Linked DNA regions of Homo sapiens: regions 1, 3, 4, 5, 6 and 7 are each linked to region 2. The links are contacts of gene promoters, found by promoter capture Hi-C in blood cells and fetal thymus (Javierre and others, 2016). All regions are on one chromosome and are shown on one strand. The core of a region is centred on a gene start or on the middle of the fragment in contact, and the rest is flanking DNA. Distances in the headings are between cores, read along the strand shown. Region 1 has its middle 12 kb from the start of PIP5K1B. Region 2 holds the start of FXN (frataxin). Region 3 has its middle 31 kb from the start of PIP5K1B. Region 4 overlaps PIP5K1B (phosphatidylinositol-4-phosphate 5-kinase type 1 beta). Region 5 overlaps TMEM252-DT (TMEM252 divergent transcript). Region 6 overlaps TMEM252-DT (TMEM252 divergent transcript). Region 7 overlaps PIP5K1B (phosphatidylinositol-4-phosphate 5-kinase type 1 beta).

Region 1 (3,355 bases), core at 802-3,301, 340 kb before region 2:
CAGAAAAAGGCATTTTTTTTTTCCAGTGGTTTCATTCTCTTCTTATCCCACCCACTACTTTCACACTCTCATTTCTGTATGAGGAAAGGGCTGAGCTTTTGTTGCAGCTGCTACTCTTGGAACAGTTGAGACCATTAACTCACATCTCCTGCACCTGACATGCCAGCATCCTACAGGCAGAATTTAAAGCTTCGGGGTCCTCTTTGCTAAAATGCTACCCACACTTAAGTCCACACAAAGTTGAAGGCAGCTTTGCAATTGAGTTTTACCAACAATCTTAGGACCCACATTATTAATTGCTACACAGCAACCACTCCTCACTCAGCACTTCTTCCTCAGCTGAGAGGCTTCCCTCTACTGTAAAGGCTAATGATGCCAAATATTTTTTTCTCCTCCCTTGCTTCCAGATGACCAAACTCAGAGTTGTGTCTTGGCCCTTAGATTTGCTACCTAAAGCCCACAGCGTGGCTGTCTCAGTTTCCTGACTATCATTCCCTACAATCTGGATTTTGCAGCTTGAATGTTAATAGGGTAATTCATTGCAGCCCTTTGTTCTCTCTATTGCCTGTAAAATGGTGGTCATAAGCCTCAATACACATAATCTTTAAAACAACTCAATAAGGCAGGACCATTCATGTCCCCACTTTACAGACTAATAAACTAAGGCACAAAAAATTATGTACTAGAGGTCATGTAGCTGGAAAGTGGAGGAGCTAGCGTTGGAATCCAGGCAGAGGCTTCTAACCACTATGCCGCACACAGAGAAATTATTTAAAAGACATTTTAAAATTGTTTTTAATGAACACACAGTAATTATACACATTTATGCGGTACAGTGTGATATTTTGATACCTGTATACAATGTGTAATGTAGAAAGACATTTATGCAACCCCCTTTGGTTGAATATTGTCCAGGAACAGATTATTGGTTTGTTTGTAAGTCTAGAAATCAATTAACTCAATTAGCAAACAATGATGAACCATCTACAGTGTGTGCTGGGCTAAACCGTGGGATACAAAGTTGGGCAACATGACATTGAAGATGATGATAACTGGTGTGCTGAGAGCTTACTGTGCAACAGCCCCTGACCCAGGTGCTATGGATATAATGGGGAGCATCATAGTCCAGGTGAATTTCATCACAGACCTCAATCTTGTAGGAGAGAATCAACCGTGAACCAAGCGCTATAATGGGAATTGTTTAGAGTTGTGCGGTCCAGTCCGGGCATCACCAGCCACATGGGACTATTTAAAAGCAATTAAAATTAAATAATACTTACACATCAGTCCCTCGGTCACATTAACCACATTTCAAGTGCACATGTGGCTCGTGGCTACCTATAAATAGCACAGATTATGGAACAATATTCTTGCTGAACGTTCTGTTGGATGGCACTGGTTTAGAGTGTTTGGAAGCACAGAGAGACATTTCTCATTTAAACTTGGAGGTGAGGAGAGGTGTCAAGAAAGGGATCCTGAACAAAGTAATGTTTAAGCTGACACGTGAAGAATGACTAGTTTTAATCCTTACTAGAGTTCTGTGAAATATTTTGTATCTCTACTTAATGAATGAGAAAATGGTCTCCAGGAAGTTGAGAAACTTGCCTGAAGTTGCAAGAAAAGGGTGAGAGAGAATATTTGATTCCCAAATCCATGCTTGAAACACTAACAGTCACTAAAGCAACCATGGACAAAAGAGATCTCTTTTGAAAGAAACAGGTAGCAACTTCACAAATAATTGTTTGAAGACTTTGTGCTGTATTTTAAAGCACTCTGTTAAGTATTAATGTAATATGAAGTTTCCAAAAACAATTTAAAAAACACAGGGCTTCTCACCACATGGAGTCTGCCATTTCACGGAGAGATAGACAGGTGTCTATGAAATGTTGGCAGAACAAGTGAATTCTAAGTGCTATAGGAATTACAGGAGGTGGTAATGTCTTCCTGTGAAGACTTCCTGGAACAGGGAGGAATTAAGAGGGGTCTTAAAACTGTGTAGAATGGGCATATCAGAGCATTGCAGGCAGGAGGAAAGTTTGTTGGAAGGCTCAGGATGGGGGCCTGCAAGATCAGTGCTGAGAATGGGAATAATACCTTAGTCTTACGTTGGGGGTTTGTTCAGATGAGACAACTCAGTCTTTTCTGCAGGCATGGGCTTTCAACACAAATTCTTCTTGAACAATATTTATGGGTGTGTCTATAAATATTGGTTCAGGGGCAGGGCAGAGACATCACTATTTCCCCTTCAGGGAATTTCCCTCAGAGAGCATTATTGACATCACAACAGAATTCGTGGCTTCCCAGAGGAAAAGTCTTCAGGAACTCACAAGAGAGATTTTCGGGGCAACCCTTCTTTGCTTTCAGCGTGTGTTTAACAGTTCTTCCCCTTTCTCTCATACCTTTCTTCAAACCTGCAAATGAATCCCAGTGCTAGAGAGTACAGAATTACTTGTGGGAATTTAAAATCAATACATTGTTATGCACTTAAGTTCATGGGAAAAATAATCTAATTAACAAATATCTGCACTGACTTGTGAGCTATGTGAATCTGACAAATTAATACTATACATGGCATTTTATATACTCGGTTTGCTGTTCACATACTATCTGTTGGGTTCTACTTTTTTGTCTTAACATTGTCTTATGTACAATTTTCTTGGCACATCAATATAGTCCAAATAAGACCACTTTTTAATGATAGTTTATAACAAAATCAGTCTTCAATTATTGGCTAGTAGATTTATTGCCTGATAGCATTTTAAAAATATCAGTGCAATGAATAGTTTTGTACAATCATTTTTTAATTACATATTTTTGTTTTTAGAGCATATTCTCTAAAATGGGATGACTAGAACCTAGGTTTAATCATTGTATGCCTCTTGTTAGTTGTTCTCTAGGAAGATTATACCAATATTTACCTAGTGTATCTGTCCTCCCAAAGCCTTGTCAACACTGGATTTTGAATTATTACTTTGCTCTTGGTAATTTAAGGGACCTTACTTCGACTCTCTGTCTCAGTTGCTTTATCTGTGGATGTGGATAATGAGTTTTCAGGGTTGAGGATTGAATGAGATAGTGCAGGCAAAGCATCGGCACAAGGCACGGTATATAGTAAATAGGCCGCTAATGTCTATTCTTCCCTTGTAAGGAGTATGCAATGGGAATTTAGAGCTGCTTCACGTTGGGTTTTTTGTTGTTTGTTTGTTTGTTTGCTGCTGAGGTTAAGCATTTCTTTCAAGTGATTATGTATCACTGGAATACCTGGGGTGTGTCTTAAAGCCACTCTCCCTTTCCACTCTTCTCTATCTCCTCTGTCCCACAGTATGCCCCAGTCCTGAACTAGACTTTACCATCC
Region 2 (3,302 bases), core at 264-2,763:
GTCATTTAGCATCCTAAGTATGTAAACATGTCTCTCTTCACGATTCACAAAGTGGCTTTGGAAGAACTTTAGTACCTTCCCATCTTCTCTGCCATGGAAAGTGTACACAACTGACATTTTCTTTTTTTTTAAGACAGTATCTTGCTATGATGGCCGGGCTGGAATGCTGTGGCTATTCACAGGCACAATCATAGCTCACTGCAGCCTTGAGCTCCCAGGCTCAAGTGATCCTCCCGCCTCAGCCTCCTGAGTAGCTGAGATCACAGGCATGCACTACCACACTCGGCTCACATTTGACATCCTCTAAAGCATATATAAAATGTGAAGAAAACTTTCACAATTTGCATCCCTTTGTAATATGTAACAGAAATAAAATTCTCTTTTAAAATCTATCAACAATAGGCAAGGCACGGTGGCTCACGCCTGTCGTCTCAGCACTTTGTGAGGCCCAGGCGGGCAGATCGTTTGAGCCTAGAAGTTCAAGACCACCCTGGGCAACATAGCGAAACCCCCTTTCTACAAAAAATACAAAAACTAGCTGGGTGTGGTGGTGCACACCTGTAGTCCCAGCTACTTGGAAGGCTGAAATGGGAAGACTGCTTGAGCCCGGGAGGGAGAAGTTGCAGTAAGCCAGGACCACACCACTGCACTCCAGCCTGGGCAACAGAGTGAGACTCTGTCTCAAACAAACAAATAAATGAGGCGGGTGGATCACGAGGTCAGTAGATCGAGACCATCCTGGCTAACACGGTGAAACCCGTCTCTACTAAAAAAAAAAAAAAATACAAAAAATTAGCCAGGCATGGTGGCGGGCGCCTGTAGTCCCAGTTACTCGGGAGGCTGAGGCAGGAGAATGGCGTGAAACCGGGAGGCAGAGCTTGCAGTGAGCCGAGATCGCACCACTGCCCTCCAGCCTGGGCGACAGAGCGAGACTCCGTCTCAATCAATCAATCAATCAATAAAATCTATTAACAATATTTATTGTGCACTTAACAGGAACATGCCCTGTCCAAAAAAAACTTTACAGGGCTTAACTCATTTTATCCTTACCACAATCCTATGAAGTAGGAACTTTTATAAAACGCATTTTATAAACAAGGCACAGAGAGGTTAATTAACTTGCCCTCTGGTCACACAGCTAGGAAGTGGGCAGAGTACAGATTTACACAAGGCATCCGTCTCCTGGCCCCACATACCCAACTGCTGTAAACCCATACCGGCGGCCAAGCAGCCTCAATTTGTGCATGCACCCACTTCCCAGCAAGACAGCAGCTCCCAAGTTCCTCCTGTTTAGAATTTTAGAAGCGGCGGGCCACCAGGCTGCAGTCTCCCTTGGGTCAGGGGTCCTGGTTGCACTCCGTGCTTTGCACAAAGCAGGCTCTCCATTTTTGTTAAATGCACGAATAGTGCTAAGCTGGGAAGTTCTTCCTGAGGTCTAACCTCTAGCTGCTCCCCCACAGAAGAGTGCCTGCGGCCAGTGGCCACCAGGGGTCGCCGCAGCACCCAGCGCTGGAGGGCGGAGCGGGCGGCAGACCCGGAGCAGCATGTGGACTCTCGGGCGCCGCGCAGTAGCCGGCCTCCTGGCGTCACCCAGCCCAGCCCAGGCCCAGACCCTCACCCGGGTCCCGCGGCCGGCAGAGTTGGCCCCACTCTGCGGCCGCCGTGGCCTGCGCACCGACATCGATGCGACCTGCACGCCCCGCCGCGCAGTAAGTATCCGCGCCGGGAACAGCCGCGGGCCGCACGCCGCGGGCCGCACGCCGCACGCCTGCGCAGGGAGGCGCCGCGCACGCCGGGGTCGCTCCGGGTACGCGCGCTGGACTAGCTCACCCCGCTCCTTCTCAGGGCGGCCCGGCGGAAGCGGCCTTGCAACTCCCTTCTCTGGTTCTCCCGGTTGCATTTACACTGGCTTCTGCTTTCCGAAGGAAAAGGGGACATTTTGTCCTGCGGTGCGACTGCGGGTCAAGGCACGGGCGAAGGCAGGGCAGGCTGGTGGAGGGGACCGGTTCCGAGGGGTGTGCGGCTGTCTCCATGCTTGTCACTTCTCTGCGATAACTTGTTTCAGTAATATTAATAGATGGTATCTGCTAGTATATACATACACATAATGTGTGTGTCTGTGTGTATCTGTATATAGCGTGTGTGTTGTGTGTGTGTGTTTGCGCGCACGGGCGCGCGCACACCTAATATTTTCAAGGCTGGATTTTTTTGAACGAAATGCTTTCCTGGAACGAGGTGAAACTTTCAGAGCTGCAGAATAGCTAGAGCAGCAGGGGCCCTGGCTTTTGGAAACTGACCCGACCTTTATTCCAGATTCTGCCCCACTCCGCAGAGCTGTGTGACCTTGGGGGATTCCCCTAACCTCTCTGAGACGTGGCTTTGTTTTCTGTAGGGAGAAGATAAAGGTGACGCCCATTTTGCGGACCTGGTGTGAGGATTAAATGGGAATAACATAGATAAAGTCTTCAGAACTTCAAATTAGTTCCCCTTTCTTCCTTTGGGGGGTACAAAGAAATATCTGACCCAGTTACGCCACGGCTTGAAAGGAGGAAACCCAAAGAATGGCTGTGGGGATGAGGAAGATTCCTCAAGGGGAGGACATGGTATTTAATGAGGGTCTTGAAGATGCCAAGGAAGTGGTAGAGGGTGTTTCACGAGGAGGGAACCGTCTGGGCAAAGGCCAGGAAGGCGGAAGGGGATCCCTTCAGAGTGGCTGGTACGCCGCATGTATTAGGGGAGATGAAAGAGGCAGGCCACGTCCAAGCCATATTTGTGTTGCTCTCCGGAGTTTGTACTTTAGGCTTGAACTTCCCACACGTGTTATTTGGCCCACATTGTGTTTGAAGAAACTTTGGGATTGGTTGCCAGTGCTTAAAAGTTAGGACTTAGAAAATGGATTTCCTGGCAGGACGCGGTGGCTCATGCCCATAATCTCAGCACTTTGGGAGGCCTAGGAAGGTGGATCACCTGAGGTCCGGAGTTCAAGACTAACCTGGCCAACATGGTGAAACCCAGTATCTACTAAAAAATACAAAAAAAAAAAAAAAAGAAGAAGAAGAAGAAGAAAATAAAGAAAAGTTAGCCGGGCGTGGTGTCGCGCGCCTGTAATCCCAGCTACTCCAGAGGCTGCGGCAGGAGAATCGCTTGAGCCCGGGAGGCAGAGGTTGCATTAAGCCAAGATCGCCCAATGCACTCCGGCCTGGGCGACAGAGCAAGACTCCGTCTCAAAAAATAATAATAATAAATAAAAATAAAAAATAAAATGGATTTCCCAGCATCTCTGGAAAAATAGGCAAGTGTGG
Region 3 (3,818 bases), core at 1,035-3,534, 360 kb before region 2:
GCTGAATCATACGGTAGTTCTATTTTCAGGGTTTTTTTTTTTTTTTTTTTTTGAGAAATCTCTATATGGTTCTCTGTAATGGTTGTACTAATTTACATTCCTATCAACAATGTATGAGAGTTCTTTTTTCCACACACCCTCACCAGCATCTGTTATTTTGGCCCATGGAGGAAGTGGGGTTTGAGGTGTGACCTGGGTATAATTTGGCTAGATGGATGTGCAGTAGTGCGGGAAGAGCAATCCAGCTAGGTGAATGTCACCAAGACTCAGAGACAGGAATGCACTGTGGTCTGTGGTAGAGTGATGAGTAGGTCAGACAGACTAGAATAGAGAGTTTGGGCTGAGAAGTCCCAGTTAGAAATTAGGCCCTAAATTAGAAAATTAATTTGGGGCTAAATTGTCCTGTGCTTAAATATTAGGGTAAATGAAATCCTATATATAATAAAAAACTTTTGAAGGTTTCTAGCTCTCCTTCCCTGAAGTCATTGATTTATTTGCTTATTTATTTATTTACTTAAGTTCCTAAGCAGGGAGATGATATATTGAATATTGAAGTCTGATGTCATAGAAGAGTGAAGTATGGAGTGATAAGAGAACATCAACAAGTTTCTTATCTTGACTCTGCCACTTACTAGCTGTGTGACCTTGGACAAGTTATTTTCTCTGAGGCCAGTGTCCTTATCTGTCATAGGAGGAATAATAGAGTCCTCAGCTTAGTGAGGTGTTGCAAAGGTTATAGATAATATCTCTAAAATGCTTGGTGTATTGCCTAGTACACAGGAAGCCAATAAATGGAGAAGATTTTTCAGCTAGCTATGTGCAGCACAGATTGATGGAGAAGAAGTGAGGGCATGAGTCTCCCCTCTTGTAAAGTAATCACAACTACATGGGGATAAGGTCATGAGGAGTTGGGCTAAGATAGTCAAGGTAGTAAGAAAAACAACCCTAAATATATAAAAAAAAAACTACTAGAACTTGGAAACTAATTGAGCATTATGATAGCTAATGTTTACTGCGTGCCTAGTATGTGCCACAAGCTATTTTAAACACTTCAAAATATTAGCTCAGTTCTAAAAATGCTCTGAGGAGGTACTATTATTGTTGCCATCTCAGAGTCTATCATCTCAAACAGACACTCAACGAGATAGAATAACTTGCCTGAAGTCATATAACTAAGGCCAACAGGAACTCAAACCCAGGCAGCACAGTACCAAAGCCCATGTGCTAATCTACCAGACTATATTGTCTTGCCCCTCAGGAGGAGGTTAGGGAGCAATCGGTGAGGATTCACAGGTCTGGAGACCAAGGAGGGCAGGAGGAGCAGAAGTGTGCTAAGAGAAAATGATGCTGTGTGTCCTGACATGTTGAGTCTGAGCTTCGGGAACATCGAAGTGGATGTGGCCTATAGGGAGTTTGAAGTTGGGGCCTGGAGCTTGCCCGTGTGAGAGGATCTGTTTGAAGACAAAGATGTGAGAGTCACCTACTGCATAGGAGATAGTTGAGTAGTTTATCAGCATCACCCTTTTGAGTGGTCAAAGGTGTGGTGACTCTGGTCAGAGACTGCCTGGCATAGCTGACTAGGAATTGGAGAAGCGATCAGTCTGGCACTTTCCAGACTGGGGTTTCAGCAAGTGTTGTTATTGTTGTTATACCAGGGCATTCTGTCTTTGCAGAAAGACACTCAGGCACCTGCTGCCACCAACAATTATTTCCCAAGATCTGGAAGGCAAAGACATGGGCTTTTCCTTTTAACCTTATCACTGCCCTGTCTGCCATGCTTGACTCTTCTTCATTTCTCTGTGACAGACATCATGATATAATAGAAAAAGTTCCAGAGTTGGAGTTATGCCTGAGTTGAAATCACAGCTCTGTAACTCACCAGCTCAGTCATTTTGTGTAAGTTAATTAAGTCATTTAATCTTAAATGTATTTTTTAAGCTGTCAAATGGGAATAATACTTTTTTCAGAAGGTTGTAGTGAAATAACTACTAAAACCTTTAGTAAATGTTGGTTACTTGCCCCCAACAATTCCATCTTCTTTCCCCTGGGGTGGTTTAAGCATGGCCACAAATTATTTGATCTTTCCTCATTAAGAGTTGGGGGTTATGTTCCCTCCCCTTGAATCTAAGCAGGCTCATGACTACTTCAACCAGCAGAGTAGGGTGGAAGTGTCTTTTTGTGACTTCTGGAGTTAGATCATAAAAAGGTGATGTAGCTTTTGCCTGTTTGTTGAACTGCTTGTTCCTGGAGCCCTGAACCTTCATGTAAGAAGTCTGACCATCCTGAAGCCAGACGCCACAGCTGAGCCCAGCCTTACGACCGTACCCACCAAGGCACCGGGCATATAGTACAGCTGAACTGGACCTTTAAAACCAGCCTGTCTGCCAGCTGAATACCACCAAGTCATCTCCATTGACACTACATGGGACTGAAGGATCACCCAATCAAACCCTGTCCACCAAATGTCTAACCCCAAAAATCATGAGATACAATAAAATGGTTGTTACATTTCCGAGTAGTTGATAACTCAGCAATAGTGAACTAGAACAATCACTTTTATTCCAATCCCTTTAATTCTTCCTCCTCCACCTGCCTGCTTACTGGAAATAGCCAGTCCTGAGTGTATTCTGATTTGAATCCTGTTCTAATATTTCATTGTGCAAAATGTGATTTGAGGGTAATTTCATTTTATCTCCTTGAGCCTCCTTCCTTCCTTCTTTTTTTTCTCCCTTTCCTCCATAAGAATTTTCAGAGTGTTTTCATTGTATCAGATGCTAGATTGGGCATGGTCACTTTCCTCTATGTCAGGGATTAGCAAAATTGTTTAAAAGACCAGAAAGTACATAATTTAGGTGTGCAGACAAGTACCCAAATGTGCCGCTGAAGCATGAAAGCAGCTATAGATGTAAACAAATAGGTGTGGCTATATACTAATAGATGTTCATTCATCCAAATGAGTTTTGTATTCATTTACAAAAATCGGGAGTAGGTTAGATTGGGCACCCAGGCCATAGCTTGCTGACTCCTGCTCTAAGTGCCCAACACCTGGTTGGGAACATATGTATGTGTTCAGATGTCTTCCCAGGCCATATCTGGTACGTGGCAATGCTATTCAGTAGCTAGAGAAAGAGCCTCCAGCCACCCCAATTCAAAAAGGACCTGGAATTTAAGTCAAGTCTTGGCTGACAGAGGAATGGATGTTCATACTTGGAGATGGAGGTGCAGAGGCATGTAGTCCCAGAGCGCAAACAGGGATGTCAAAGCAGCGCAGGGAGCTGGAGATGAGGATGGGCTGAGCAGAAAAGTGAGAGATCAGGCAGAAATGCTAGAGAGCCTTATTTTCTAAAATTGACAGAATGCTTCTTCTGCTCACTCATTTTTCTCTCCAAGGAGTTGAAGGACAAATCTGATAAGGTAAAAATGGCTGTGAGCTCTGCAGATGCCTGCCAGGTATTACTGAAGCTATCATCTTTCCTTTTCAGAAAAATAGCTCCTTAAAGTAGATGTCTTCGGAACACAATGTAAAACCTCTTCCCCTCCCTCTAGCATAGCAGGAATTCACAGGAGGGAACCAGAATAGCATGTCATGTTCTAACAGCTCTTCCAGCAGTGAGACTAAATACACATAAACTCTTCTAAATTTGTATCTGCTGCAAACATGAACAATGACATCTTGTCATTCTGCTACGAGGTTCATCTGGACAAATTATATGCAGCGAAGGACACACTCCATCACTTTCCTGACTTTTTCAACTTCAACATCAGACCTTCATGTCCCGAAAATATCTCTGGCTTCCCTTTTATTCTTCTTTAATTGA
Region 4 (3,680 bases), core at 589-3,088, 290 kb before region 2:
CTTCAAGGAGCTCAGAACCTAGTGGGGAGCAGGCCCAGAAACCTTCAGATCCTCTGCTGTGCATTTTTAAAATAGCCCAAATACCAAAACTTTTTTTTTTTTTTTTTCGAAACAGGGTTGTCACTCTGTCTCCCAGGCTAGAGTGGCACAACTATAGCTCACTTCAGCCTTGACCTTCCAGGCTCAAGCAATCCTCCTGCCTCAGCCTCCTGAGTAGCTGGGACTACATTTCCATGCCACCATGCCTGGCTAATTTTTTATTCCAGTATAAAGTTGGGGTTTCGCTATGTGCCCAGTCTGGTTTCAAACTCCTGGGCTCAAGTGATCATCCTGCCTCAGCCTCCCAAACTGTTGGGATTACAGGCACGAGGCAGGCTTGGCCCAAAATGTCTTTTAATGTCAGTTTTGAATGAGCTTTCATAAGAACACTGCATATGTGTGAGGAGAAATCCCTTTCACATGGTGTAGATTTGGTAAGCAATATTTCCAATATCAGAAAGACTTGGTCAGTGTATGTTGATTTGCCAAAACCCACTGGCATATAAGGATGCTGTGGCTGTTGACTTTTCACATTTGCTTAACCAAAGTGCCAGTTTATTGAAGATGAGTTCTGTGTCATGTTTTACTGCCCTGCATGTTAAGATTTGCTTTTCATGACACTAAGACAATGGGAGATTGAATGGGTGGAGTTAAAGAGGCCCCTGTCCTTCTATTGATTCTCCTTGGGTTTCCTGCTGAGTATGGGTTGAGGCTCTGGCCTTCTCAACTGGGTGCCAGATGAATGTACCGGGAATCCTGTTAGGGTGACATCTAAGAAGAAGACTCATAAAGCACAATATTGGGAACTCAATCAGAGCTTGTTTCAGGAGGATCAGGGCTGAGCTTAGTGGGGGTTCTTGGTGATAGGGATTCCTTCCTGAAACACATTTGTCTTCCTGGAAAAGGAGGAAGGTGTAAGAACGAGAACCACTGATGTATGCAGGAGGTCCGTAGCCTCAGTTGCCATAGATACTGAAGGCTCTGCATGGCCTGGCCAAGGATGGACAATGTTACAAGGTGGACCCACAAACCACAGTGATCTTCATCCTCAAGCTGGGGCATGCTGGGCCTCATTTTTGGAAAGTACATTTTCCACGAGATGTGCTAACACAATGGGGTTCTATGTATAATCTGCCTTGAACAAATAGGTTTCATGGGAGGCCACGAAAAAACAACTTCATCAAGTCTCCCACTCTCCCATTAAAATTTATTCAGTGGAAAGCATTTCCCCTGTTTTTTGGATGAAAACATATCACGTGGCTATTCTGATTCCTCATATATAATAAAAAGCCCCACTTTAATTTGCCAGATATTTAAAATGTCTAGTATCATGGGATAGTTAAAGCTTCCAGCTTCATTCATATTTATAACTGCTCCCCTTCCCCTGGCTAGGGCCTGTTGCAGGGAGAGGGGGCTGTGGTTGGAGGCTTTTTCTCTTGCTTACTCAGTAGCTATGACTTCTGGACTGGGGTGAGGGGCTGGGTGGGGAACAGGAAGGAGTGTAGGAAAGCTTTTACTAGGCAGGCGGTATCATAGGAGAGCTCTTTTTGTGTTGTGGGTGTTTAGAGTTGATTCTTTCTCTTGTGGGGCCCTTTTGTGGGTTCTTTGGAGATACCCTCTCACCTTGTCTCTGGGGGCCTCTCACCTCCAATTTCCTTGGTGGGGCTGCTGCACTCTCTTCAGCCTAATTGCAGACTGTTTCCACAGTCTCTAGAAAGCCCACCAATCCATTCGTACTCCTGTCTGCTGGGTTCTATTGCTGTCCAGGTGGCCCTTGTTGGGAAGACCCTAATATATAGCCCTGTACATATGCTCATGGTGTGGTCCATGGGAAACACTCACACTTCCTTTGTTCCCACCAACTGGGAGAGGGCAGGCTGCTCCCAGGGCAACTGTCGTTTCCTTTGGCTTGTCCGTCAGCATCCAGCCAGCTCTCCAGTTCTTCAGATTTCTTAGGCAGAAGTCCCAAACAAGGTCACAGTGCCTTCCACATCGTAAGAGCCTCATGCTCTCCAGGTAGTCCTGTTGAGCCCCCTCATGAGGCTGGAAGGGGGAGAAGCAGGGAGGGGCAGGTACTCTTATCTCTTCCTAAGCTTAGTCCTTTAGGCTAGGACCAGACTGGACTGCAGCCTGCTTGCTTCAATCATTCTCTCCTTTTAGCCACCAACAAGCAGTCTGACCTACTTGTAGCCACACCGTAGGTAAGAGGTTTAAGACCAGTGAAAAAGGTTTTGGGCTATGTTCTTTGAAAAACTGCATCTAGGCCTGGCACTTCACTTTGGAACCTGGTATCTCATCCATCTTAGCGGCTTGTTTGACACATCCCATTTTGACATTCTGTAATACTTTCTTGGGAAGCAGGGCTTATCCTTAGCTCTTGGAGATGCACATGACACACAGCATAGAAAAGGCTCCTGGGAGTAGACAGGAATGTCCACTTCACTCCAGCCTCTTCCTCTCCTGCCCTCCATCCTGCTCCAAGGGCCTGTGCTCCACCTGAATCTTCCATCCAGGAAGCTCCCTCTCTGCTGCCTGCTCCCACTCTGTGTTGCCAGCTCCTTCTGTTCCTTTAGGATTCCTTAATGTTCCTTCCTTAGTAAAGACTTCTTTGTTCAAACCCCACCTAAGTAGATCTCCCCTAATTTTCTGTTTTCTGTTACCGCAATTCCCTTTATTTCCCTCACAGTACATCTTATATTATAAATGATAACGTTTCCAAATAAATTATACAAGCTATTTAGTGTCTTACTCTCACATCAAATGGTAAGCCCCATAAAGGAAAATTCATGTCTGTTTTATTCGGAAACTAACCAGTGCTCACTAAATATATGTTGAATAAATGAATGAAAGCATGAATTAAAAAGTTACTTTTGTTTAAGCTGTTCTTTCCCCACATGTCTCTCTTCTTTTGTGTTAACTCTTTTTTTTTTTTTTTTTTTTGAGACATAGTCTTGCTCTGTCACCCAGGCTGGAGTGCAGTGGTGCGATCTCGGCTCACTGCAACCTCCACCTCCCGGGTTCATGCTACTCTTGTGCCTCAGCCTCCCGAGTAGCTAGGACTACAGGCATGCATCACCATGCCTGGCTAATTTTTGTATTTTTAGTAGAGACTGGGTTTTGCTATGTTGGCCAGGCTGGTCTTGAACTTCTGGCCTCAAGTGGTCCACCCACCTCAGCCTCCCAAAGTGTGTTCACTCTTAACAAACAGATTCTTAGTTATATGGCATGCACAGAGTTTTGGAAGTACTGAGACAAGGCTTAATTTTTGGTATATTTTTCTGTTCATCATCATCTCCCCTCACCCTTTCTCTCCTCTCTCTGTCTCACTTTCTCTTTCCCTCTGGCTCTGTCTTTTTCTCTCACTCTCTTCTAACAAGAACTTAGTTTGAGGCAAGTGGAGCAGAGGTGCCACCCCATGTTACAGATACCCACACCAAGGAGAGTTAGCTGTGAGATAACCTAAGGGGTTGATGGCAGGCATGGCCCAGAGCTCAGCACTTCCATGTCTCTTCTGGTCTTGTCCTCTCTGTGCCTCTCCTGCAGTCCTTTGTGTCCAGCTGTCATCTGGCCTTGCAGCAAGGCCTGGCTTACCACTTCCAGAACCTGCCGAGGTAGCAGCAGCCTGGCCTCGGGCTGGAGTG
Region 5 (3,752 bases), core at 655-3,154, 420 kb before region 2:
GAGGCTGAGGCGGAGGGATCACGAGGTCAAGAGATGGAGACCATCCTGGCCAACATGGTGAAACTCTGTCTCTACTAAAAATACAAAAATTAGCTGGGCATGGTGACGCGTGCTTGTAATCCCAGCTACTCGGGAGGCTGAGGCAGAAGACTCGCTTGAACCAGGGAGGCAGAGGTTGCAGTGAGCCAAGATCGCACCACTGCACTCCAGCCTAGCAACAGAGTGAGACCCTGTCTCAAAAAAAAAAAAAGCTAAATGTTGTAAGTCCTGGTATGATGGTGTCAGCTTCCTTGGGGAAGTACTTCTTTAGTTATGTAGCTAACGAGATCTTTTACTACAGATCTGGATGGCTATTCAGATAACATAGCAAAAATGATAGCAGAAGATCATCAAAAACTTAAAATATATTTTATTAGAAAACATGTATCTATGAATGAGTATTTCCTTGATGCTAGTCTCTGCACACATATAATTTGTTACTTGTATGCATTCATTGGTTGTTCAGTATGTAAGACAATTACAAATAACTTAATACTGTATTTTCCTTGTATGGAAAACTGTTGTAGACCCAATGACTAAAACTTTCAAAATAAAATATTTTCTATTATGAAAAAAAAAGAATATCTAATGACAAGAGAAATTCTGTTAGATAAGTTGCTTTTGGCTATAAGTAACAGAAAAATTTAAACAGCATAAACAATATAGCTATTTATTTTACCATCTGTCAAGATGTCCAGTTTGGGAATGGTTGCAACATCGGTTAATTCAGAAGTTTAACAAAGGAATAGCAGTCCTGGTTCTGATCTTGTTCATCAGCTGATCTTGTTCATCAAGCTTGCTCCCCCATCCCCCATGTTTGCAAATTGGCTGCCATTGTTTCAGATACATTCAGACAATACCCAGACTTGAAAACGGAAGTTTCTTCCTACAAGTCATTTTTTTTTAAAGAGCAAAGAAACTTTTCCCAGACATTCCCTAAGGACTTCCCTGATGTCTCTTTGGCCAAAATAATGTCACATGCTTACTCCCAAGTCCATCACTGACAAGGTGAAAGGAATGATTAAGAATGACCTAGACCAATTAAGTTTCATTCCCTCAGGCTGGAGAAGGTTCCAGCTTTCCCTACAGCACATGGCTGTCCTATGTCTCAACAAAATCAGGGTTGGCTCACAAACCAGAATGGAGAGAATTGGCTGTTAACTAGACTACCGTCAGGTAACACAACAGTAAATGCAACATATTTCCATTTGTATAAAGAAAAGTGAATATAGATAGGTCTATAAAGAATAAAAGCCTATGCATATTTTAAAATATTATTCATGTTGTTGGGATTATAGAAAATATTTATTTTTCTTGTTTCTGCTTTTCTTTTTTTCCTAAATGTTCTGCAATGAATATGTAATATATTTGAAGTCTATTTGTGCCCTCCCCCCACCAAAAATATATCCAAGAAAGGTTACTTTAAAATAAAACATTTATAGTCCTTGCCAGGTCTTTTTTTTTTTTTCTTTTAAAGTAAGTATTAAGAGCAGTTATGTAAAATCAAACTCAGAGGTTTCATTCAGTTGAGGCTAGAATGTGTCTGATGCAGCCTCCAAAGACATGGAGCCTCCTGCACTCGCATGAGTCCCAGGACCCTGAGGCCCCACGGAGATGTCAGCAATTTTATCCCAGGGGCTACTCTTGCTGCTTAGAAGACGATGTCCTGTGACTTATCTTCCCAAACTGGAAGGTTGGACAGTACAAACCAGATTCTAAACCAGTTCTCAGTGTCAAGGCCAAGAAGATATCAGACCTGTCTAGGGAACAGGGTTACACTGAGACTTTCGGTTCCACCACAAGCAGGAAGACAGAGCTGGAGGAATGAAAACAGAAGGCACAGCAAAAAAGACAATTAAAGAGCAGCGAAGTCACTCTATGCCTCTAGACACATGTCCAATAACTTGGCATAAAAGCACATGCATTTTGTGACCAAGTTGGACTGGAATTCTGTCCTGGTGTACTCTGCATGTCACCTGTAGACACTTCTCAGCCTGTACCCGGGATTCAAAAAGTTGAGGGCGATCAAGAATGAGGAAAGATATTTCTGCAGCCAAAGCAGGGACAGTCCACATTCACTCAGCAAATCTCTGACCCTCTGCATGAAACCCCAGTGGCCACCTCCAGCCCAGTCCTGGCGACACAGAGCAGGCAGTGCCCTCAAGGAGATGAGAGACGCAACCCAAGTGGAAAAGACTCGAGCTTTAGAGCAACACAGACCTCAGCTCCAATCGGACGTCACCAATTGCTAGTTGTGCAAACTTCGGCAAGCCACTTCACCACCCTGTGCCTCAGTTTCTTCACGTGTAAAATGAGAATAAGGCTTTTTAAGTATTCATCGAGTTCGCTTATGCAAAGTGTGACGAACCTCAGCTCAGCATAATTGAGTGAAGAAGCTGGAAGGGCAGTAATGGCCTCCAAATGCACCTCCAACAGCCACCCAGGAAATCCCGCCCTTGCTTTCGCCTCAGACTCTGGGCACAAAAATTAATCAAGAGCTCTGAGGCCGGAAATCTGGAGCTGTCAGATTCACTCTTCTGGATTGAACTTTTAATGGAGGTGGATCACTGGGGCTTGCTCTTGCCAGATAAATAAATGGTACTTTAAAAATTATACCCAGCTAACAAAACCTGCTCACAGCCACACCACTGGTGCTGGGGAAGCGAGCTCTGACTCCGAAGAACAAATCACGCCTGAGGGGCCTGAGTGGAGAAAGTAAGGTTAAATCACTGGAACCACGTATCCATCTGCAACGGACTGTGTGGGTGGTGTGCATGAAAAGAACAGAGAAGAAGGTAGGAGAAGCTGCAGGAGGCAGAAACTGGAGGGGAGGCTCTGTCTTTGGAGTAGCTGCCACTTTGATATCTCTCTTTTTTTGGAAATGCTCTCTGCTGCTACTTGTTTGGGAGTTTAGCACAGCTAGAGAAATGGCTCATGAAGCTTGAGGTGAGGTGGAGATGAATTCCCTCTAATGAAAATCCCTGAGCCATCAAAGTGCTTCATTAGTTCCACACAAGACCTCTAAGGTGCGCAATGGACATACGGGGCTCTTCAGTGAAAAGATTATTCCCCGTGTGCTCATCTGGACACTAAATTCTGGTTTAATCACTATTAAAACTGTCCTGAGAGAAAAAATGGGGCATGTGAAAATGAGAACACTCAAGGTCATATTTATCCACATTGTTTAGAGTGAAAAGTGTAGCTCATACAAAGCTTGCCTGGCTACTGAAACCACTTCATTGAAAAAAAAAAGGCCAATAAATATGTCCAAGCCTTTGTACTTCCATTTTTGTAATCTAAAATGTTTTGGTTTGTTTTAGTATTTTATCTAAGAAAAAGAATGTGTTTGGGGCCAGGAGCAGTGCCTCATGCCTGCAATTCCAGCACTTTGGGAGGCCGAGGCGGGCAGATCGCCTGAGGTCAGGAGTTCTAGACCAGCCTGGCCAGCATGGTGAAACCCTGTCTCTACTAAAAATACAAAAATTAGCCAGGCATGGTGGCACATGCCTGTAATTCCAGCTACTTGGGAGGCTGAGGCAGGGGAATTGCTGGAACCTGGAAGGCGGAGGTTGCAGGGAGCCAAGATTGTGCCACTGCACTCCAGCCTGGGTGACAGAGCGATACTCTCCGTCTGAAAAAAAAAAAAAAAAAAGCAAATAAAAAGAATGTGTTTGTAAACTTTCAAGATATTTTACAAGTTTGTGTTTTGATGA
Region 6 (3,789 bases), core at 701-3,200, 470 kb before region 2:
AACATGGCAAAACCCCATCTCTACTAAAAATGCAAAAAATTAGCTGGGCATGGTGGCATGCACCTGTAGTCCCAGCTACTTGGGAGGCTGAGGCACAAGAATCGCTTGAACCCGGAAGGCAGAGGTTGCAGTGAGCCTAGATTGCACCACTGCACTCCAGCCTGGGCGAGAGACCAAGACTCCATCTAAAAAAAAAAAAAAAAAAAAAAAAAAAAAAAAAAACCCAAAAAAATGGTCTGGGAGTTGGTCCCAGCCATCTGTATGTTAGCAAGCCTTCCAGGGCATTCTGTAATGTTGTAGAACCACTAGTTTAGGGGAAAGACATAGCATCTGTCTAAAAGTAATTTTCATAAGGTGCCCGTAGACACAAGTAAATGTAGAATGATCATTAGCTCCTTTTTTCATCTTCCCTTTGCATCCTGAGGAACATAAACACAATAGCCTTCTAGGTCAAAGAAGGACAATTTTGCCCTACTGACTCCAAGTTCTCCTTTTTTTTTTGAAACAGAGTCTCACTCTGTCACCCAGGCTGGAGTGCAGTGGCGCAATCTTGGCTCACTGCAACTGCCGCCTCCTGGGTTCAAGCAATTCTCATGCCTCAGCCTCCTGAGTAGCTGGGATTACAGGCATGTGCCACCATGCCTGGCTAATGTTTTTTGTATTTTTAGTAGAGACGGGGTTTCACCATGTTGGCCAGGCTGGTCTTGAACTCTTGGCCTCCGGTAATCCACCTGCCTCGGCCTCCCAAAGTGCTGGGATTACAGGTGTGAGCCACTGTGACCGGCTGACTCCAAGTTCTTTAGGGCAACCAGGGCTTTTCTGGTGGCCAAGGCTTGACTCACAGAGAGCAAAGAATAAGAAACATTCTGATTCTTATTTTAGCAACTCAAGACATAGCAACCCAAGATGTGGAATCTGATGCAGATGGGTGCCCTCTGAAAAGATGAGTCATTCTATCATGGTCCATGACACATAACCTGGACAATTCAGAATGGGAAAGGGGTGCAGCTGGAACACAAGCGAGGAGAGAGAGAGGAGAGAGGGTAGTGGTAAGGGGGTCACTTGCTTCGGTGAGGCTATTTGTCAGGAAGCCAGGCTGGGTGCCTAATCAGTGTGGCCGTATTCTCTCTCTTCATGGCTCTGCAACCTGTTCATTGGATGAACCTGGCTTTGTTCCTTCCCACCTCTGGGTATTAATATATTAAGAAAACAAATTACAGCCCAATCCCACAAAGGCTAGGGAACCTGCCTTTCTTCTTCTTCATTGTGTCCCCAGAGCCTAGCAGATTGCCTGCTACGTAGTTGATAAATATTTGAAAAAAATCAGTGAGGCTGGAGGTAGAGTTTGTTCTCAAGGTGAGAGGTAGGGCAGGATTTCCTCCCTTAAGTAACCAGGCAGGAAAAGAACAGAGTGTCACTTGTTATAGGGTACCATGGTCAAACCAAGGAAATCAGGATTAATTTGAAAGTCCAAAAGGAAGTAGCACAGATGAAAACTGGATATAGTCAGAGGTCAGGACTTGGGCAGACCTGAACTTAAATGGGATCAAAGAAAGGAAATGAGGTAAGGATAGCCCTGCTGTCCACAAATTGCCCCATGCATAAGTAGATTAGGTTGGTGTAAAGCTATGTTAACTAATATTCAACAAATATTTATTCAGTCCCTATTATGTGACAGGTACTACTCTAAGAGGCACTCGCAATTCTGCAGTAAACGAAACAAACAAAAATCTCTACAGCCACGAAGTAGAGAGCACTGACCCCAAAAGGAATAATAATAATAGCCATTTGATGATTTAATAATCGTAATAAATAATTGCTTACCAGGTGCCAGGCATTGTCATCGTTATCATACATAGACCACCCAATCAGTTGATGTGGAAGTAAGTTCTATGCTTATGCTAACTTTCACTTTTCCAAAGGACTTTCTTCTTCAGACCATCACCTCTGGGTGCAGAAACGACAGGAGGAAGTAAAGTCTGAACTTACGACCTGGGATATTACATTTCAGTTTGGTTCTGGCCAGGCACCATGGCTCACACCTGTAATCCCAGCACTTTGGGAGGCTGAGGCAGGCAGATGACAAGGTCAGGAGTTCGAGACCAGGAGTTCTGGCCAATATGGTAAAACCCCATCTCTACTAAAAATACAATAATTAGCCGGGCGTGGTAGCAGGCACCTGTAGTCCCAGCTACTTGAGAGGCCGAGACAGGCGAATCGCTTGAACCCGGGGGGCGGAGCTTGCAGTGAGCCGAGATCACGCCACTGCACTCTAGCCTGGGCAACAGAGCGAGACTCCGTCTCAAAAAAAAAAAAAAATTGGTTCTAACAAGTAGGCAAGTCGCCTCATGACTTATATTACTGGTTACTGAAAGATTGAGTAACAAGATTGCAGTTAATGAAATAATATGAGGCTTTTGATGGGTGTTTATATGAATAGTAGGTAAAGAAAATGGTTTTAAGAGAATGAGCATCAAAAGTCTTTCTCTAAAATCCTTTGTGGCATGTTGTCAGAGGAACATTAATAATGAACTATTCTAGACATCCTCTCGACAATGCTTTCACAAAAACATAATATCACTCAACTGACATGGGTTTAGTTAAAAATTCCAGCCAGATGATGATTATTAAAAAAGAAAATCCTTACCAGTTAGACATGCATGTAGACCCTTGAGTGTGTTTTTAAAAAGATAGATACATGGAAACATTAGATATATAAAGATGTATATTCCAGCCAGAAGTGCCTGTAAGACAACAGTACTCCTAAACATAAAGTAAGTTATTTAGAAATTTTCAGATTTGACAAGGGGTTTTATTGTTTGCCTCATATACTTTATACACATAGAACTTGCTGTGTTAAAAAGCCCTAATTCACTAACTTCATTTGTGTATTATTCAATGCCTTTCCATGTATTAATATTTCTGGGGCTGTCCCTGGTGAATGATTGTGTATGGAAGAGAATAAATTATTTGGTTAAGACCCCAGCCTCGGGAGGCAAGTTGCCAATGCTTAATTACTGGCTCCGTCACTTACTGGCTGTCTGATATTGAGCAGGTTATTTAACTTCTCCATGCCTCATTTTCCCCATCTGTAAAAGGGGGTACTAATAATGTGTCATAGGGTGGTTAACAGGTTTGAATATGCTTATAAAATGCCTGGAAAAGTCTCTGGTACATCGTAAGTGCTGTGTGAGGTGCTGATGTTTTTCTGCTTCTGCAGGTGTGCCCTTGCTGTCCTTTGCCTCCTCAGCTGGGCTAACACTGCTGCTCTTCCCTTCTGAAGCTCACCATCTTCCATCCTCAGATCCCCTCTTTCACAGTGCTGCTGACATCTCTTCCACCCAACCTCACCTCCCATAATTCCCCACACCTCAGAAGAGCCAAGCTCTGCCATTGCACGTGGAGGTAGAAACTAGAGAGATAGCACCAAAAAATAACTTTCCTCCTTGACATAGGCCCACATCCATTTTAGGGTGGGTTCCTGAGCTGGCTCATGACATGGTCCTGGCATCTTCCCTGTAACCAGAGTCAGTTCTGCCCAACCACCCACTCCAGGCCTCCCCACGCCTCAGACCCTAACTCCAGGAAAAAGGACCATGTTGTCCCCTCACCCTAGGCTAAGGCCCACCACAGTTCATTTCTTGCCTTTGGATTGACCTCTTCCTAGGATGGCTGGGAATAAGAGCTTCCCTTCCCTTAAGGACAAGCCCCACTCCACCCACAGGGCTGTGGGACAGATCTGAGGCTCAACAAGATGATCCCATTAGAGTCCAATTTAGGGATTGCTGG
Region 7 (3,583 bases), core at 407-2,906, 320 kb before region 2:
CACCATGTGCTTCCAAGCTGCAGCATTTCTTCACTGAAGAGAAGGAAAGGGAAACCTAGTCAGGTTAGTAGTAACTTGTACCAGAGCACAGAACCAGTAAGGGATGGCACAAAGGTTCTAGCCCTGGCTTTTCTGACTATGAAGCCCATACTCTTTTTCTCTGTTTCATGGTGTAGCACCTCAAAGTACAGTTTTGAAATAAGAGTTTTAAAAAGGAGAACATAAGCGAATCTAAAATTTATATCTCCAAACTAAGTCTTTCTCTGAACTCTAGTTTGCATAATTGACATTGCGCTTGGATATCCCAAAGGCACCTCAAATTCTACATGTTCAAAACCAGAATCATGATCTGTTTTCTCCACATCTGATACTCCTGCAAGGTTCCCAGCTCTGTGGTGGGCACCGCTAGTCACCAAGTAGCACGATCAGAAACTTGGGAGCCATCCTTGGCTCCACCCTCTGCACACACCACATCTAATCCATCACCAATGTCTATTGATTTTGCTTCCTGAATATCTTTCCCATTCCATCTGCTTCTCATCATTTGTGCGGATTCTATCCTAGCCCAACTTCTTGTCTCTCTGCAGGACTGAGCCAGAACCTCTCTGGTATCCTGAGTCCACTCTGGGTCTCCTAGAATCCATTACCCATATTGTAACCAGGGCACTTGTGATGGTTGGAGGGCACCTGAGGCTCTGCTGGCCAGATCTCTGCTTCCTGTACCCTGCCAAACCCTCACGGAAGCACACAAATTCTGACCCCAGGGCTCTCCACCTCAGTGGCCTTTTGAGCTCTTGGACAGCCTCTGAGGACTTGTTTTTCCAAGTAGCTTTCTACCCTGATGTTTTTGCTCTCCTGGAGTCCAGTCAGAGGCAGGTTCATAACTACAGTCAACTACTTTTAAAGGAACAGGATGGAAACTCCAGTGTAGCTCTAGGGACTTGCCCAACCCTACCGCAAATACCAAGTTCTTAAGAGTTCTCCGGCAGTTCCCAAGGTGCACTCCACTCACTCCAACAAAGAACCAAAGACTGCTCTACTTCCACAGTTGCTTATACTCTGCCCCTGAGTTCCCCCAGGACCCTGCAATATCACATTTGTGGCCACCATAGCAGAGAAATTCACCACCTGTGGTCTAGGAATAAAATCTAAGCCTCTCCCAAAAGGCACCTGTCTCTGACTGTTGACTGTGGCTTATCCTGGCAGCTTTGAGGAAAAGGCCTGGGTTGCTTTGCATAACTGGCAGGATAGATAAAGAAACATGACTCAAAATCATTCTCTCTGTATTTCCTCATAACAGGAACCAGTTGACATGGGTGCAGGAAAAACTTCCTGACCAAGGAGTGGGGCCTGGGGCTGGGGGTGCTGGACAGAGAGAAGCACAGGGATCTGCCCCAGACTCTTCAATGGCCTCCCTTTGTGCCTGGAGTGAAGATGTGGGTCATTGACATGGTTCCAGAGCCCTGCACGGTCCTGGTCCTGCTGCCACTCCAGTCTCAGATCCACCACTCTGCCCCTTGCTGTTTCTGAGCCACACTTGCAACTGCCAGCTTCACACCCTCTGTGCAGCACTCTCGTTGCCCCCTTTGGAATGTTCTCAGCATCGGTCGACCACGCTTCAGGTCAATTCTAAGGTTACTTTTGAAAGGAGGCCTTGGCCACCCATCCCCAGTCTAGGACAGGACCAGTGGTTCCCTCTCCAGGAGGGCTTCAACAGTATGATTATTTGACTAGTTTCCTCGCCCCCACCAGCTGCTAATCATCAGGGCCCATTGCATCCCCATAGTGTCGGCACATGTAGAATTGTCTTGAGTGAATAAGTAAATGAATACCAATACTTCTACCTTAAAAAAATCCTTTTCGTAAATTCCCACTAAAGAAAGGAAATGCACAGAGATCATGAATGAACCACTTCATATTGCCGATCCTGTCCATGAACTTGATCTTCAACTTTCATTACCACTGCCTAATTTCACCTGTCATGAGCCGCATTTCTATAATGGTAGCTGCAGGTATTATCCCCAAGGAAGGTTGCCCCAAAGGCATGATATAAAATATTTCTGGAAGAATACCTGAGATACTAGTGTCTTTGTTTGCCTCTGGGGAGGTGAATTGGCTAGCTGAGGGGCATGGATGGGAGGGGAATTTTCATCCCATATTTATTTGTACCTCTGAATTTGGACCCATATGTGTGGATTACTTATTTTAAAAATTAGAATTGTAAAAGTAAAAGGAAGGAAAGCAGAGCAAGAGATGTGAAGGAATGGGAATGATTATTTAGAGGAAAGAATATGGACATGCAGTTGAAAGGGGGTTGTCCTGAAAAGAATTCCTGTCTTCAAGGATACAGCCAGTTACATCTGACTTGCTCTGCACATCTATGGAGAACTATATGGCTTCAACTTAAAAGGGATGCCATAACATATAACTTGACTTAAATAGGTTTGTCTGATCTCTCCCATCACAGAATATAACATTTATTCTAAATATAAAAGCTAATAGAACCTAATTATTTAAGAGGGAAGCAGTTGTTAAGGAAGAAGTTAGTTGGAGGCTAAAGCATTCTCCTTGAAGACATAGAAGTGCCCAAGAAACATGAAAAAATGCTTATCATCACTAATCACCAGAGAAGTGCAAATCAAAACCACAATGAGATACCATCTCATACCAGTCAGAATGGCTATGATTAGAAAGTCAAAAAATAACATAGGCTGGCAAGGTTCAGAGAAAAGGGAGCGCTTATGCACGATTGCTTGGTTTGCAAATTTGTTCAGCCACTGTGGAAAACAGTGAGAAATCTTGGAGATTTCTCAAAGAACTGAAAATAGAATTATCATTCAACCCAGCAATCCCATTACTGGATATATACCCAAAGGAAAATAAATTGTTTTATCAGAAAGACACCTGCACTCACACGTTCATTGCAGCGCTATTCATAATAGCAAAGACAAGGAATCAACCTAGGTGACCATCAATGATGGATTGGATGAAGAAAATGTGGTATATATACACCATGGAATATTATGCAGCCATAAGAAAGAACAAAATCATGTTCTGTAGCATAATGGATGCACCTGGAGGCCGTTATCCTAAGCAAATTAACACAGAAGCAACCAAATACCGCGTGTTCTCACTTATAAGTGTGAGCTAACCATTGGGTACACATGGACATAAAATTGGGAACAGTAGATACTGGGAGCTCCAAAGGGGACAGGGAAGGAGGGAGGTAAGGGTTGAAAAACTACCTGTCAGGTACTGTGTTCACTACTTGGGTGATGGGTTCAATTGAAGCCCAATCCTCAACATCATGCAATATATCCAGGTAACAAACCTGCATGTGTAACCCCTGAATCTAAAATCTGAAAAAAAGATTCTCTTTTATGATCCAGGTATTTTTAGAATAGAATAAGAGACTGGACGGTAGCATCCTATAAAAACTGGTTAATATAAGTTGGCATAACCCAAGCTTGCATTTAATCTTTGCACATAGCTTTTCCAGTTAGTCAAATTTGAACTGTAAATAAGAGAAAAATACCAACTTGTCTTAGGTGGTTCAGGCTGTCATAACAAAGTGTCAAAAACT

What was found. Contacts are between HindIII fragments. The CHiCAGO score rates a contact against its expected background, and 5 or more counts as called.
Region 1: a contact is called between a fragment that was not itself captured here and the fragment with the promoter of FXN in region 2, in 3 of 17 cell types (megakaryocytes, erythroblasts and M1 macrophages). The highest score is 6.7, in megakaryocytes.
Region 3: a fragment that was not itself captured here is called in contact with the fragment with the promoter of FXN in region 2 in 1 of 17 cell types (monocytes); the score reaches 5.2 in monocytes.
Region 4: a fragment that was not itself captured here is called in contact with the fragment with the promoter of FXN in region 2 in 2 of 17 cell types (erythroblasts and megakaryocytes); the score reaches 8.7 in erythroblasts.
Region 5: a fragment that was not itself captured here is called in contact with the fragment with the promoter of FXN in region 2 in 4 of 17 cell types (non-activated CD4 T cells, M0 macrophages, total CD4 T cells and 1 more); the score reaches 7.1 in non-activated CD4 T cells.
Region 6: a contact is called between a fragment that was not itself captured here and the fragment with the promoter of FXN in region 2, in 13 of 17 cell types (monocytes, naive B cells, total CD4 T cells and 10 more). The highest score is 9.5, in monocytes.
Region 7: a fragment that was not itself captured here is called in contact with the fragment with the promoter of FXN in region 2 in 1 of 17 cell types (megakaryocytes); the score reaches 5.6 in megakaryocytes.

What each region holds. Positions count from the first base shown.
Region 1 is chr9:68,691,371-68,694,725 of GRCh38, forward strand. No RefSeq gene overlaps it. Among named protein-coding and RNA genes, the nearest start is that of PIP5K1B, 12 kb to the right of the region's middle. The HindIII fragment of the contact is 3,728 bases long and covers 188-3,355 here.
Region 2 is chr9:69,034,239-69,037,540 of GRCh38, forward strand. FXN (frataxin) reads left to right here and starts at 1,514. Exons shown (of 5, transcript NM_000144.5): 1 at 1,514-1,709. The coding sequence starts at 1,545. RefSeq lists silencers at 1,403-1,872, 2,455-2,749 and an enhancer at 2,033-2,082. The HindIII fragment of the contact is 18,212 bases long and covers 1-3,302 here.
Region 3 is chr9:68,672,167-68,675,984 of GRCh38, forward strand. No RefSeq gene overlaps it. Among named protein-coding and RNA genes, the nearest start is that of PIP5K1B, 31 kb to the right of the region's middle. The HindIII fragment of the contact is 7,734 bases long and covers 1-3,818 here.
Region 4 is chr9:68,743,118-68,746,797 of GRCh38, forward strand. All of the region lies in intron 2 of PIP5K1B (phosphatidylinositol-4-phosphate 5-kinase type 1 beta), which reads left to right. Among named protein-coding and RNA genes, the nearest start is that of PABIR1, 35 kb to the right of the region's middle. RefSeq lists a silencer at 912-1,106. The HindIII fragment of the contact is 583 bases long and covers 1,548-2,130 here.
Region 5 is chr9:68,612,488-68,616,239 of GRCh38, forward strand. All of the region lies in intron 2 of TMEM252-DT (TMEM252 divergent transcript), which reads left to right. Among named protein-coding and RNA genes, the nearest start is that of LINC01506, 68 kb to the left of the region's middle. The HindIII fragment of the contact is 2,145 bases long and covers 833-2,977 here.
Region 6 is chr9:68,563,723-68,567,511 of GRCh38, forward strand. The region is part of intron 2 of TMEM252-DT (TMEM252 divergent transcript); the gene reads left to right. Among named protein-coding and RNA genes, the nearest start is that of LINC01506, 19 kb to the left of the region's middle. The HindIII fragment of the contact is 4,987 bases long and covers 1-3,789 here.
Region 7 is chr9:68,713,878-68,717,460 of GRCh38, forward strand. The region is part of intron 1 of PIP5K1B (phosphatidylinositol-4-phosphate 5-kinase type 1 beta); the gene reads left to right. Among named protein-coding and RNA genes, the nearest start is that of PIP5K1B, 10 kb to the left of the region's middle. The HindIII fragment of the contact is 3,615 bases long and covers 1-3,464 here.